2 separate regions of the Homo sapiens genome follow, and region 2 is linked to region 1. The links are contacts of gene promoters, found by promoter capture Hi-C in blood cells and fetal thymus (Javierre and others, 2016). All regions are on one chromosome and are shown on one strand. The core of a region is centred on a gene start or on the middle of the fragment in contact, and the rest is flanking DNA. Distances in the headings are between cores, read along the strand shown.

The links. Contacts are between HindIII fragments. The CHiCAGO score rates a contact against its expected background, and 5 or more counts as called.
Region 2: a contact is called between the fragment with the promoter of PSD4 here and the fragment with the promoter of IL1F10 in region 1, in 6 of 17 cell types (M1 macrophages, M0 macrophages, M2 macrophages and 3 more). The highest score is 9.0, in M1 macrophages.

Annotation. Positions count from the first base shown.
Region 1 is chr2:113,066,545-113,072,160 of GRCh38, reverse strand. It overlaps IL1F10 (interleukin 1 family member 10), which reads right to left and starts at 4,191. Exons shown (of 5, transcript NM_173161.3): 1 at 4,145-4,191. The HindIII fragment of the contact is 1,248 bases long and covers 3,844-5,091 here.
Region 2 is chr2:113,171,709-113,177,777 of GRCh38, reverse strand. PSD4 (pleckstrin and Sec7 domain containing 4) reads right to left here and starts at 3,807. Exons shown (of 17, transcript NM_012455.3): 1 at 3,724-3,807. It overlaps LOC124907872 (a long non-coding RNA gene), which reads left to right and starts at 2,010. Exons shown (of 2, transcript XR_007087197.1): 1 at 2,010-2,508; 2 at 5,753-6,069. RefSeq lists enhancers at 3,235-3,324, 3,945-4,114, 4,165-4,234, 4,464-4,964, 4,965-5,465. The HindIII fragment of the contact is 16,060 bases long and covers 1-6,069 here.

The DNA.
Region 1 (5,616 bases), core at 2,942-5,441:
GTGACTAGAAGTGCTTGGCCAAGACTGCCGAAAACAGCCCATCCAAACTCCCCCATTCTGTTCCAGATGGAAAATGGCACAGTGAAGATAGTGGCCCTGTATAAATGCCAGGCCACACAGCCTCACATGACTCTGCTCCTTCCCGATGGGTTATCCTGTCCTAGAGCTCTTCCCTAAAATGAACACCCATTGGAAAGGCCAGTCCAGAATTTAGCATGGAAATAAACCCAGAGCTAATCAGGAGTTGGAAATTAGCTCAGGAAAGTAACGCAAGTATGACTAGGGCTGAGGTTTACCGAGTAGATCTGATTCTCACCAAATAAGAAGGGAATAGAGAAGAAAAAATATAAGAAAGCAGAAAATGAGAGAAGAGAAAGGAAGAAGGCAGGTGGAAGAAAGTAATAGGGCTCAGGGAGGAATAGAGAGATGCTGAGGGACCCTGGGGAGGCAGGTGAGAAGGAACAGGTGGGTGCTGAGGATACGGCTTCCAACCACCTCAGCTCTCAAGTTCCAGAAACAGGGCTGTAGCCAAGGTGGCTTTTAGTACTGGGTCTGTCACTGTCACTTTGGACAAGTCATTTTCTGTCCCCAGGCCTTGGGGTATGACTTTGAGACTTAGAGTGAAGGATAATAGGGACTAACAAGTGCAAATTCTGGAGGGATGTTGGTGCTGTGAATGAAAGTCTTAAAGCATTCTGTATACTTTGTGATTGCATGTGTTTCCCTTACTCTTAGGAAAAATAACGGATTGCCCAAATGTTTACTTACAAAAATGTTCACTGCATAATTTTTTACAATAGCAAGAAGTTGAAAAAAATCTGAATTTTCAGTAATAGGTAATTGGCTAAGAAATTATAGCAAAATTCAATAAATAAGGATGTATGTGTTTGTTAAAGATGATATTATAGAAGCTTGTTTTAGGACATAAAAATTTTCAAAATATATTAGGTGAAAAATGCAGATTATAAATCAAGTGTACACTGTAATTCTATTTAAATCCACACATAGAGACACATACATAGAAATGTTACTCGTGTTGTTGCACCACTTACCTATGGCTTTATGAGTAATTTTTTAAACATATCAACATTTTCCTATAATGAACATGAATTTCCTTTGTAGTATCAAGTAAGTTTCAACATTTTTTAAATGAAGTGTTCAGTTAAAGTCATTGGCTCCTAAATGTGCCTGCCCATCTGCATCACCTGGGGGACTCTGTATAATTACTATTTCCTGGGCCGAAGGTTCTAATTCAGTAGGACTTGGAGTGATTCCAGCAATCAGCCATGCTGCTTGGGAACTGGTGTACTTTCATTCCATTCTTCACACTTATTAATAAATATATAAACCACCTGCAGTTCTTGTTAAAATAACAGATTCTGGTTTTTCAGGCCTGGGGTGGGGCCTGAGACTGTACATTTCAAATATGCAACCAGGTGATGTCAATGCTGCTGGTTCCTCCTGGCCAGCACTTTGAGTCCTAAAGGACTAGACAATCCCCCAGTACAGATAACTCAACAGCATCATGGCCTCAATGCAAGCCCACTTGATGATGGGCTCCCCTTGGCCAAACCACTGGGGCTTCTTTGGTTGTAGCAGCAGGACAGTGGGCAGTGTGGTAGCTGTGCCCAGATCTAGGTGGGGCAACAAAGTGGAGGGCCCTGGGTGAAGGTGGATAGCAAGCTGATGACTCCCACTCTGGGTCAGTGTCAGCTCAAAGAGCTGGAAGAAATTCAATGCTGGTCCAGTCCAGCTGGATCCCATGGGCCCTAGAAACCTCCCATTCTGGCACAGCCAAAATGTACAGTGTCTTTCCCAAAGGCTCCCCTATTCGGCTCCCTCCGCCTGGGTTCTGATAGATTGTGATGAAGTGAGTAAGGGTAGGAAGCTAGCGTCTGGTCCATCAGAGAGCCTGGGTCTTGGTGCTGAACCTCTGCTGTGTGCCAAGCCCCTCCCAGTGTGCCACATGCCTCACCCCCAAAGCTTCCCCTCCCTATTTTCCTCAAATGACTTTTCACTGAACTTCAGTCTATATCCCTCTTTTCTTCCTCTCATTTCTCCCTGGACATGGCATCTGGCTCTCAGACCTCCGCAATTCACCTGTCCTGGCTCAAACACTGCCATCAGCTAAACTTGGGCTTTCCCCATGTTCTTTTGCACAGCACCCTGTCCTATCCTTCATCATTCTCCTGCACAGTATCTATGTGGGATGTTCTGTCCAAGACCAATATTAACTTCTGTGGAGCAAGATCCAGAGATTCTTTTGATTCCTTTGATATTTAGTCATTGCCTCCTTGGAACCCTTGACATTGAATGACTCCCTTCACACCTCTTTCTCCCACTGTAGATTTCACCTCCTTCTGGGGCCACCCCTAAGGCTAACAAGGTCCTAAGCACTTCTATTTCACATCATATTAAGCTGCAATTCATTGACTTCTACAGCTGCAATGATTATCTTGGGCTAATGGCTCCCAAATGTAGACTGCACATCCCACTTTACCTCCTGCAGCCTACAGGACAGCCCACTTTGGACATCCTGCTGATATCCAACCAAATATATTTAAGGTTAAGTTAATTATCTTCTCCTCCCAGCCCACACATTCCTCCCAATTTCATTTCTCTCACTGTCATAATATTCCTCTCACCAGTGATATTCAAAACCTGAGACTCATTGACAATATCTCCTACTTCTCCTGACTCAGTGTCTAACTTATCAAGTCCCTACAGGTTATTTCTTTAAAATATAACTTTGTGTTTTTAATTGCCATTACTACTGTACTTGTATTCCCGGTTTTTCTGCCTTTCATTCATTCCAACCTATGTGAGGAATGTGGACCCACGTTCTAAAGATTTTTTTCACCACATCCCTGCCCAGCTCTAGAATCTACAGTGACTGACTGTTTTGTCACCGTCTGGCACTGATTTTCTTGTGTGATAGCATCTCACTTCTCCATGGACACTAAACCACACCTCCTGGCGACATAATTCCTTTCTTATCTTCTCAGTGGACGTACTCACAGGTGTCCCATTGTTCTCCCTGCCTCAAAAGTCATCCCTTCTCATTGTCATCCATTCAGATCTTTTGATATTAAGATCACTGGAGATAGTATCAGTATAGATGGGTTCAGTATCTAGTTCTATCAAATTAATTACCAGTGTAGAGTTACAGCTTAGACATACAGGGTTATGTCTTTTAACCTCCAACCCTCAGTTTCAGCACTATACATTCATGGGATTAGATTATGTGGTTATGAAGGTTCTTTCTAGGCCAAACTATTTATAATTCCATGACTCAGAGTTTAATGAATCTTTCCCTTACTATTGTAACTCTACTCTGAACTCCTATTAAATTTTACTGTATTATTTATTGTTGTACATAAAGATATTTGTTTCCCTTATAAAAGTTTATAAGATCTTGAAGTCATGAAGCATGGCTTACAGCTCACTTGAAGCTCTCTCCAACCACCCTAATTGAACTACCCTGGTCCTTGTGGCCAGGACATAGAAACACACAGAGCAGACTTTGAATAGAAAGGCTGAGTCCTAGACCTAGCTCTGCTACCAATTTATTTTGCCACCTTTTATCCCTGGGCCTTCAACTTATCAACATTGGATGGAAAGATTGAGTAAGGTATCTTTCAAAACTGTTTTAAGTTTCACAATAAAATTTTATGCAGAATTCTAATGATTGTAAAAAGGATAAAGGGCAGCTGCTTTGCTGACACAGGAAGCAATGGAGACTTTGGAACCCTGCTAGTATTTCTCTTGCCTACAAAGAAGACACTGAGGAGCTACCAAGGAGCACAAAAAAAAAAAAAACGAAAACAAAAAATCTCTTAAGCTTCCACCAAACACGGTTTGAATACCATTGGCCCAGATGGTTTCTTTTGAGATTACTTTCTAAAGTCAGTTGTTCTAAGTAGTTCAGAAATCTTGATTTGGCTTAACCTATTCCTTCTCCTCAAATCTCTTTATGTGCTCCTAAATGTTTTTGATGTCCCATCATGTCATATGAGGGGACTACCTTGTTACCTAGACAGCTTGCCAGGAGGAGTGAAGGGATAGAGGGCATACCAGAGATATTGACAGGAGAGAGTAGAAAAGAAAGAAAAGAGAGAGAGAATATTGCCTGTCCATCACTGACCTGCAGATCCTGAGTTCCTGGAACCCTGATCCCTGGAGACTCCAACTGATTTCTCCAGGGCATTGCGCTGTGTTTATACCGTCTGGTACAGGTGGGTCAGGCCTGCACCAATCTCTATAATTGGCTGCAGGACATGAAGGAAGAAGAGCCTGGGCATTTCACAATGTCTTTGGTACAGCATGAATAATAAGATGGTGGGAACATTAAGGAGCATTTGTTGAAGGGGGAGAGAGTCATCCATAAAGCCTTGGCAGAAATAAGGTATGGGGCCCCTGCTCTGTACTGACTGTCGTTGACTATGTTATTAGTGGGTTTGCAGCCAGATAAACAGTGCTGGGGTCAGACATCTTTGGTGCCCCGTGGGGCTCCATCCTAGGCTTGAAGAGGTGGTGAATACAAGAGAAAGTATGTCTGGCAAGCCCAAGGACAGAACAAATTCTGATGCCGGAATCCAGGCTGTGGCCAGACAGCCAGAATAAGAGAAGGGGCTGATAGCACTGTGAGTGTGACTCTGTTTGGAAAGACGAGAAGGGAGTCTCTGCTTTTCAGTGGGTTTAATTAGTTGGTACCAGCTTGATGGGACAGAACATCTAGGGAAACCCAACTGCAAAGATATTGACCTCAGATTCACCCTGAGACTGAGCAGACATCATGTGCCATGGACTGCTAGGAAATATGATAGTGTGAGTAGAGCACAGAGGAAAGAACACTCAGGTCTCTAATTGACATTACTTGACTCAGTCCATCCATCCATCCATCCACCCGGCCACCCATCTGTCCATCTATCTACCCATCTGTCCATTCTTCCATCCATCCATCATCCATCCAACCATCCATCCACCCATGTGCCCATCCATCCACCCTTCTGTCCACCCTTTCATCCATCCATTCATCCATCCATCCATCCATCCATCCATCCATCCCTCCATTACAAGCGTGGAGAAGCTTAGGTGTAATGTTCTCTGGAAACTAACAACCTTATTATAATTCTCCCTCTTTGGTCATTTGCAAAGTTCCACCAAGGGCTTCTTGAGGAAGTGGGATAGGTGGGTCTAAGACTCAGATGCCTGCAGGATGAGAAATGAGAAAAGATGGGCAGAAATGGGACCAGATTTCTGCTTTCTAAGGCCAGTGATCATTCTTCTTCCACTCTCCCAATCTCTCACCCTTCTATGGGAAGGCTTAAAGCATGAGTTACTATGTCAGGCAACCAATGAGTGTTTACCCAGCATTTACACTGCTGTGTGACACAGACATTCAATACACAGTCCTTGTTGTTAAGTAGTTTCACAGTCTAGCTGAGGAACTAAGTCATAAACACTTGAAAAGATAATTAAGAAGACCAGACTCTCTAAGCTGTGGGCCAAGGACATGTTGGAAACAATAGTGGCAGATAAGCTCCTTGGGCAAAAAAAAAATCTTAGAATTGAAAGGACTTTAGGCCAGGCATGGTGGCTCATGCCTGTATCCCA
Region 2 (6,069 bases), core at 2,558-5,057, 110 kb before region 1:
TTTCCTGTTCGCCACTGTGTCTCAGTATGAAAATATTGAATGGCATAGTCACATTATGTAACTGATTTGTCAACCACTCCGACCCACAAGGTCTGGGGGCATACTTTAGTTCAACTGGATTTGAAATTTAAAGATCAGCATTGACTTGAGGGGTTTAGTTCAAGTGGATTAGAAACTTAAAGGTTAGCGTTGACGTAAGAGGTTCAGGCCCCCCTGTGACTTGAGCTGGTGTGCGAACCCAGGTTACAGCTCTCTTAAGCATCATTCTCTCCTCCTGCCCCACTGATCAATTCTCTTGGACATTCCTGAATTCACTTGAGTCACTCAAACTCCTGTACAGCGCCTCCTTGACTGAGAGTCGGCGTTGTAGAACATTTGTGAAAATAAGAGAGGGGATGGCTAGATGAATGGACAGACAAATGGAGAGACACACTGATGGGATGGATCCTCAGAACTCTCCCTCCACAACAACCAGGCCAGAAGACGGGGAAGACCGAGGCTTGGAGAAGAGAATTAGCATCATTATAATATGAAGGCTTCCCCACGGGGGCCAGTCTGCCCATGACCAATCACCTCATCCTCCCCTCTCCAGGAAGTCCAGTGCTCCAAGGGCAGTGCTCCCCCAGAGGTAGGTTCCTACCAGGTCAGCAGCCAAAATGTCCCTGTGGGTCTTGGCTCCCAGGCAGCAACCCGAACAGAAAGGAGGACCCATTCAATTGTCTTGTTTGTGCTCTCCATTTGTGCAGGGGGCACTGTGTAACTGTGTGTTTAAAAGATGTCTTCCTTCTGTTTTTTAATTGCTCTTGCCTGAATGGAAAGGTAGGATGACCTAAAAGGTGAAGTCACCTCCTAAGGCCAAAAAGGCAGTCCTACCGGTCACCCAGGTGAGGGCGGTCTGATCTCAGAAGGGTGGAGGATGGAACTAGCCTTTGATCCCTGAGGTAGGATGGCACCCTCTAGGCAGAGGCAGGCCAGAAACTGGGCAGCAGAGCCCAGGTCTTACGCATCTAAAATTTTCTTGGTTTACTTGTGTTTTTCCACCCCTGGTGTTTAGCAAAATCTCTCTTGAAATCTCCTGTCTGTTATCCCAACCAGAACGAAAGCAGAAGGAAAGGAATTCGCAGCAAAGGAATCGCCACCTGTCACATCAGTTGAGTTCTGTTACCTCTACATTAAAGTGGCCCTTCAGTTTTTCTGAGCTCTGAGGTGGCTCTGAAAGTTTAAGGAGGGTTCAGAGGGGAGGGAGCCGAGGTGGGGAAGAGAGAGCACTGCTCCACTCTGCTGCCAACCAGCCACTCTTCTTGAGCACAGCTGACTACATTTCAGAGAATCTTCACCACGGTGGGGAGGGGGTGTATGTTTCTCATGGAGAATACTGCAAGGGCTAAGCCTTATGTCCCTCTTGTGGGAGGTGAAACACACAGAAAGCAATGGCTGAGGGACTAGAAGGCAGAGTCCCTCCCACCTGCCCCACCCCCGGCTTCAAGGCAATTTCTTTTTGACCCAAGGGGGCAGGAAGGAACCCAGCTGACACCTGGCACCCGGACGGTGCTTTCTAACAGTGAGTTTGTTTTTCACCCTCAGCCTGGCATTGCAGCCTTGTACCCTGGCTGAAGAACGGGGAGACCGGGCACAGAGGCTGGGGTATGAGCCTGCCCTGAGTAGGAAGGTGATGGCCTTGGGTGCCCTGCACTGACCACCCTCCTTTGCCCACTTCAGGGTCATAGTGAAGAATGCAGAGCAGAATCCCATCCTAACTCTACAGCTGACAAGCCATGTGGCTCTGGGTGAAAAACTCCACCTGGTTCCTTTTCTGTAAAATAAGGAACCAAGACCCAATAAAGCTATACTTCACAGGTTTGTTGTAAAGTTGGAATGGGTCTGAGTGCTGGGCCTGGCCCTTGGTGGGTGCTCAGGAAATACCGTGTCCTGCTCAGTTTAATTTTGTTGTTTTGCTGTCCATTTAGAGAAGCCAAAATTAACAAAAACAAACAAATAGCCCTCCTGGTCAGGCTCAGCTCTCAGCCTCCTCAAGGAGTCAGCCCTGAACCTTCATCCGGAGGGTGCCTGTCTCTGTTTCCCTTTTTGAGCTTCCAGACTCAGCAAGCAAACGCTCCCTCCTTTTACCCTGGAAATGTTTTCCCTCCTATGGAAAAGGTATGAAGGCTTCTGGCCGGTCCAAGGACTTAGGAGGTGACCTGTCCTGTCCCTCTGCAGCCCGAGAAGCTGCCGAATTACAGATGTTGCTGCAGGCAGGAACCATGAGTGGAACTCCCTGGCCTGGAGCTGCAGGACAGAGGCCTCTGTCTGAACCTGGGGTCTGAAGCACCGTGAGAGAAATGACTCGAGAAGGCCCCACATCCTGCCCACACAGAAAGAGCCATCATGCAAATTTGCACGCACACACACACACACAGAGAGAGAGAGAGAGAGAGAAGACAGTGCTACTGAAGGCCTGTGGTGAGGCCAGCAGAGGCTCAGGAAGGGAGCAGAGGATGGCGGTCTGAGGTAGGCAGAGAGTATCCAGGGGAGAGATCACGGGGGTAGGGACAGAATGACAAAGGGGACCCAGTACAGCTGCTGCCTGGGGAGGACAAAGACCCCTAGGGGGCTGGGGCCAGGCTGGGCCTCTCCTCCCTGGGTCCTCTCACCCCACATCCCTCACCCCTTCTGTGGGTCTCTCCCCCTTCCCCAACAAAGAGCTCAGCAGCCTGTGTTCTGATCCCCATGCTAGGCGGTTCCTTGTCTGTAGGAGGAGGGGGCCACGGGATGCTCTAGAGTCCTAGGCAGCTGGGAGACAGGCCTGCTTGGGGACCACTTTTTAAAGCTGGTCCAAGGTCCAATGAACGGAGGAGTATTTATCATCAGCTAATGACAGGCCACCCTTCCCTGCATTCTAGCAGAGGAGTGACTTCAACTGTGGAATTTTAGGCCCTGGAATAAGGGGGGAATGGCAGTGTCAGGGGACTTTCCCTCCATGCAGCTACCTTCACTATAACAATAATGACTACAGTGGGCCTTAGTTTCCTACACAGGCACACTTTGAGAGTTCAGTGGTTCCTGTTGCCCATCAGGACAACAGGCCTAAGCCAGAGCTAAACCAGTAAGGAGGGTCCCCTTACCTCTCCTCGAGCTTCTCCAGGATGGTCCTGGAAGGCAAGATGAAGCTGGGAGCCCCCTGATGGCCAAGTTGACTCTGAGCTCCTGCAGCAACCACACCCAGAGCCACCCCCACCCCAAACCCAGGCCTTCCAGACTCCCTCTCTCCAGAGTCTAGGGTCGAGAATCACTTGGGACCTTTGGCCACAAAAGCCCCCACTGGGTACTCAGCCAGAGCAGTCACTGGGGACGCAGTGACACTCACAAGAGGATTAGCAAGGAGCTTCCTTCACCCTTCACTATTGCAGACCTCCAGAGGCTCTGCGGGGAGCCAGGGAAGGGAAACAACAGAGGTCCGTGGGGCCAGGGCAGGGAATCAGAGAAGGGTCAGATGAGGAGGGGTAGGCTGAGGGAGGAGGGGGACGGGACACAGAGCAGGAAGGGGGAAGGAGGGGCCTAGCCTAGCCCAGGCTCATGGCAGGTGCACACGGCACTGCCAGAGCCCTCGCCTCTCCCCTGCCCACCTGCCCCAGCCCCTGCCACAAGGACCCACATGTGACTCTCCACATTCCCTGCTCCCACAGGTTCCACCAGCCCCAACCTAGGCAGACCCACTTAGCTCACCTCCAAAGGACCCAAGAATGGATGGCTTGGCCTGGGCTCCCCAAGAGCACTTCCTGGCTCACAGTCGGCTTGCCCAGTGAATGTGGCTGTGACGGCTGGAGCTTCCGACTTCCGCTCCTCCTCACCACAACACACACCCCTCCTGCTCCCCGCCGCCTCCCCAGGGTTCCCTAGCTGCTCAACACCTCACACTTCCTGCCCACAAGATAAGAGCCTCTCTTCCTAGGCCCAGCGCCTGCAGCCCCTTTCCCCATGCCCCTGCTCCTTGGAGGCCCCCACCCTGCACACCAGCCTAGAAAGAACCTGCCATGGTGGAACTGGCCTCTCCCTGCCATGCAGGGGCCTGGGATTGAAAGGGGAAGGGGCCGAGGCCTGGTTGGTAAGCAGGCCCCACCTCCTTCCTCCCTGCGCTTCTGCCCCAGGTTCTCAGTCTTGCTCTGGCTCTTGGTCCCCTGCAGGGCACCCAGTGAGAGACAGGAGGGCCCTAAGTTGGGCAATTTCTGGTTTTAAAACAAATGACATTTCAATTTTTGTGTGACTATGTCTCATGTCACTGGTAATAATGCAAATGATACAATTGCCTTTTAGTTACAAAGTTTCTCCCAATAGTACCTCAATCCCTCCTCACACCTACTTTATGAAGCATTAATAACCCCATCATACAGATCCGGATCTGGAGGCAAGCTCAGAGATGCTAAGCCACTGCCCAGGGTTGCACAGCTGGAAAATTACAAAGCTGGGGTTAGAATACAGAGCCTGTGACTATATGAACCAAGGGACCTCCATTCCCCGTGGCTGAATTCCCAACACACGTCCTCAGGACACCGGCCGCAGTGTCCACAAGTGTAAGTGAGGCTGGTGGGGAGCGCAAACACCATGCCATTCTCCTCCCTCCACACAATCTACTTCCTCAACATCAATGACCGTCAACTTCTCTGCTGAGGCTCCACCACTCCCACCCTCCCTGAACTCTCGTCTTCATGATTCCAGCTGACCCAGAGACTCCCTCACTTGCATGTCCACACAGCAGTGGGGACCAGCCACCCTGACCCAGAGTTGAGAGGGTCGGGCTCTAGCTCACCTACAGCCGCACCCCTCCCTGCAGGGTACAGAGTCCACAGGAACATACCAACATGGAGCCCGTGCACCCTGCTTCTCCACCACACTCTGCGTGCCCCAGATCCCGAGACTCTCCACTTCTGGGGCCCAAATGGCCTCCTCCCCATGTGGGCACACAGCACCGCTGCCCTATGCAGCCTGAGACTGGGTGAAGCGCTGGCAAGAGTCCTGATAGCAGAGACGGGAGCAGGTAGAGAGAGCTCAAACCTTTGGGCAGGTCACCCACCCACATGCACGTGTGATACAGAGCAGGGTGGGGAAGAGAAAGGGAGGTGGAGCTGTGGCGTGGGCCAAAGGCTGGGGTGGGCTGTGCTGTGGCAGCAACATTCAGAGGCGGCTAAGAATCCTCCTTCAAACCTGGAGCTCCAGGCCATGATGAAAGTGGGAGGTAGGAGAATTAGGAGAATAGACACTTTTTTTTTTTTTGAGACCAAGTTTCGCTCTTGTTGCCCAGGCTGGAGTACAGTGATGCCATCTAGGCTCACCACAACCTCCACCTCCCAGGTTCAAGTGATTCTCCTGCCTCAGACTCCCAAGTAGCTGGGATTACAGGCATGCGCCACCACGCCCGACTAATTTTGTATTTTTAGTAGAGACGGGGTTTCTCCATGTTGGCGAGGCTGGTCTCGAACTCCCAACCTCAGGTGATCCGCCCGCCTCGGCCTCCCATAGTGCTAGATTACAGGCGTGAGCCACCGCACCCGGCAGGACACATTTTATATGACAGTTTGTGAGCTTTAGTCTTAACTTTCATGTATTTGGACATATCAGATGGGGTCCTCCACTCTCCACTTCCCAGGGCTGGCAAATGTTGGGGACATGCTTATCTCACCAGCACTTCAAACTCAATGTTTATAAGGCAAACCTGGTTCCTTCTCTTCTCCAAGCTCTTCTTCCTCATATATTTCAGGTTTTACAACTCTCTCTCTCCATCAAGCTGGGTAAGTCAGAAACCTGAAGTCACCAAGACCTAAATGCAAACCCTCCACTCTGGGCCCCAGCCGCTAGGGGTGTCTCCGGAACATGGCCAAGGCTCAAAGTCAGCACCTGCTCTGTGCAGGCTCTATGCTACAAGCCGCTGACCTATCAGGAATAAAACACATGACCCCTGTGGAAGCTGAAGCAACTCCATCTTGGAAGCTAACCTGCCACATTGACTTAACTGAGTGACCCCAGTTCCAAGGCAGGGCCTCTACAATTTCCAGTTTATCTATTGTTTCCTGTGTA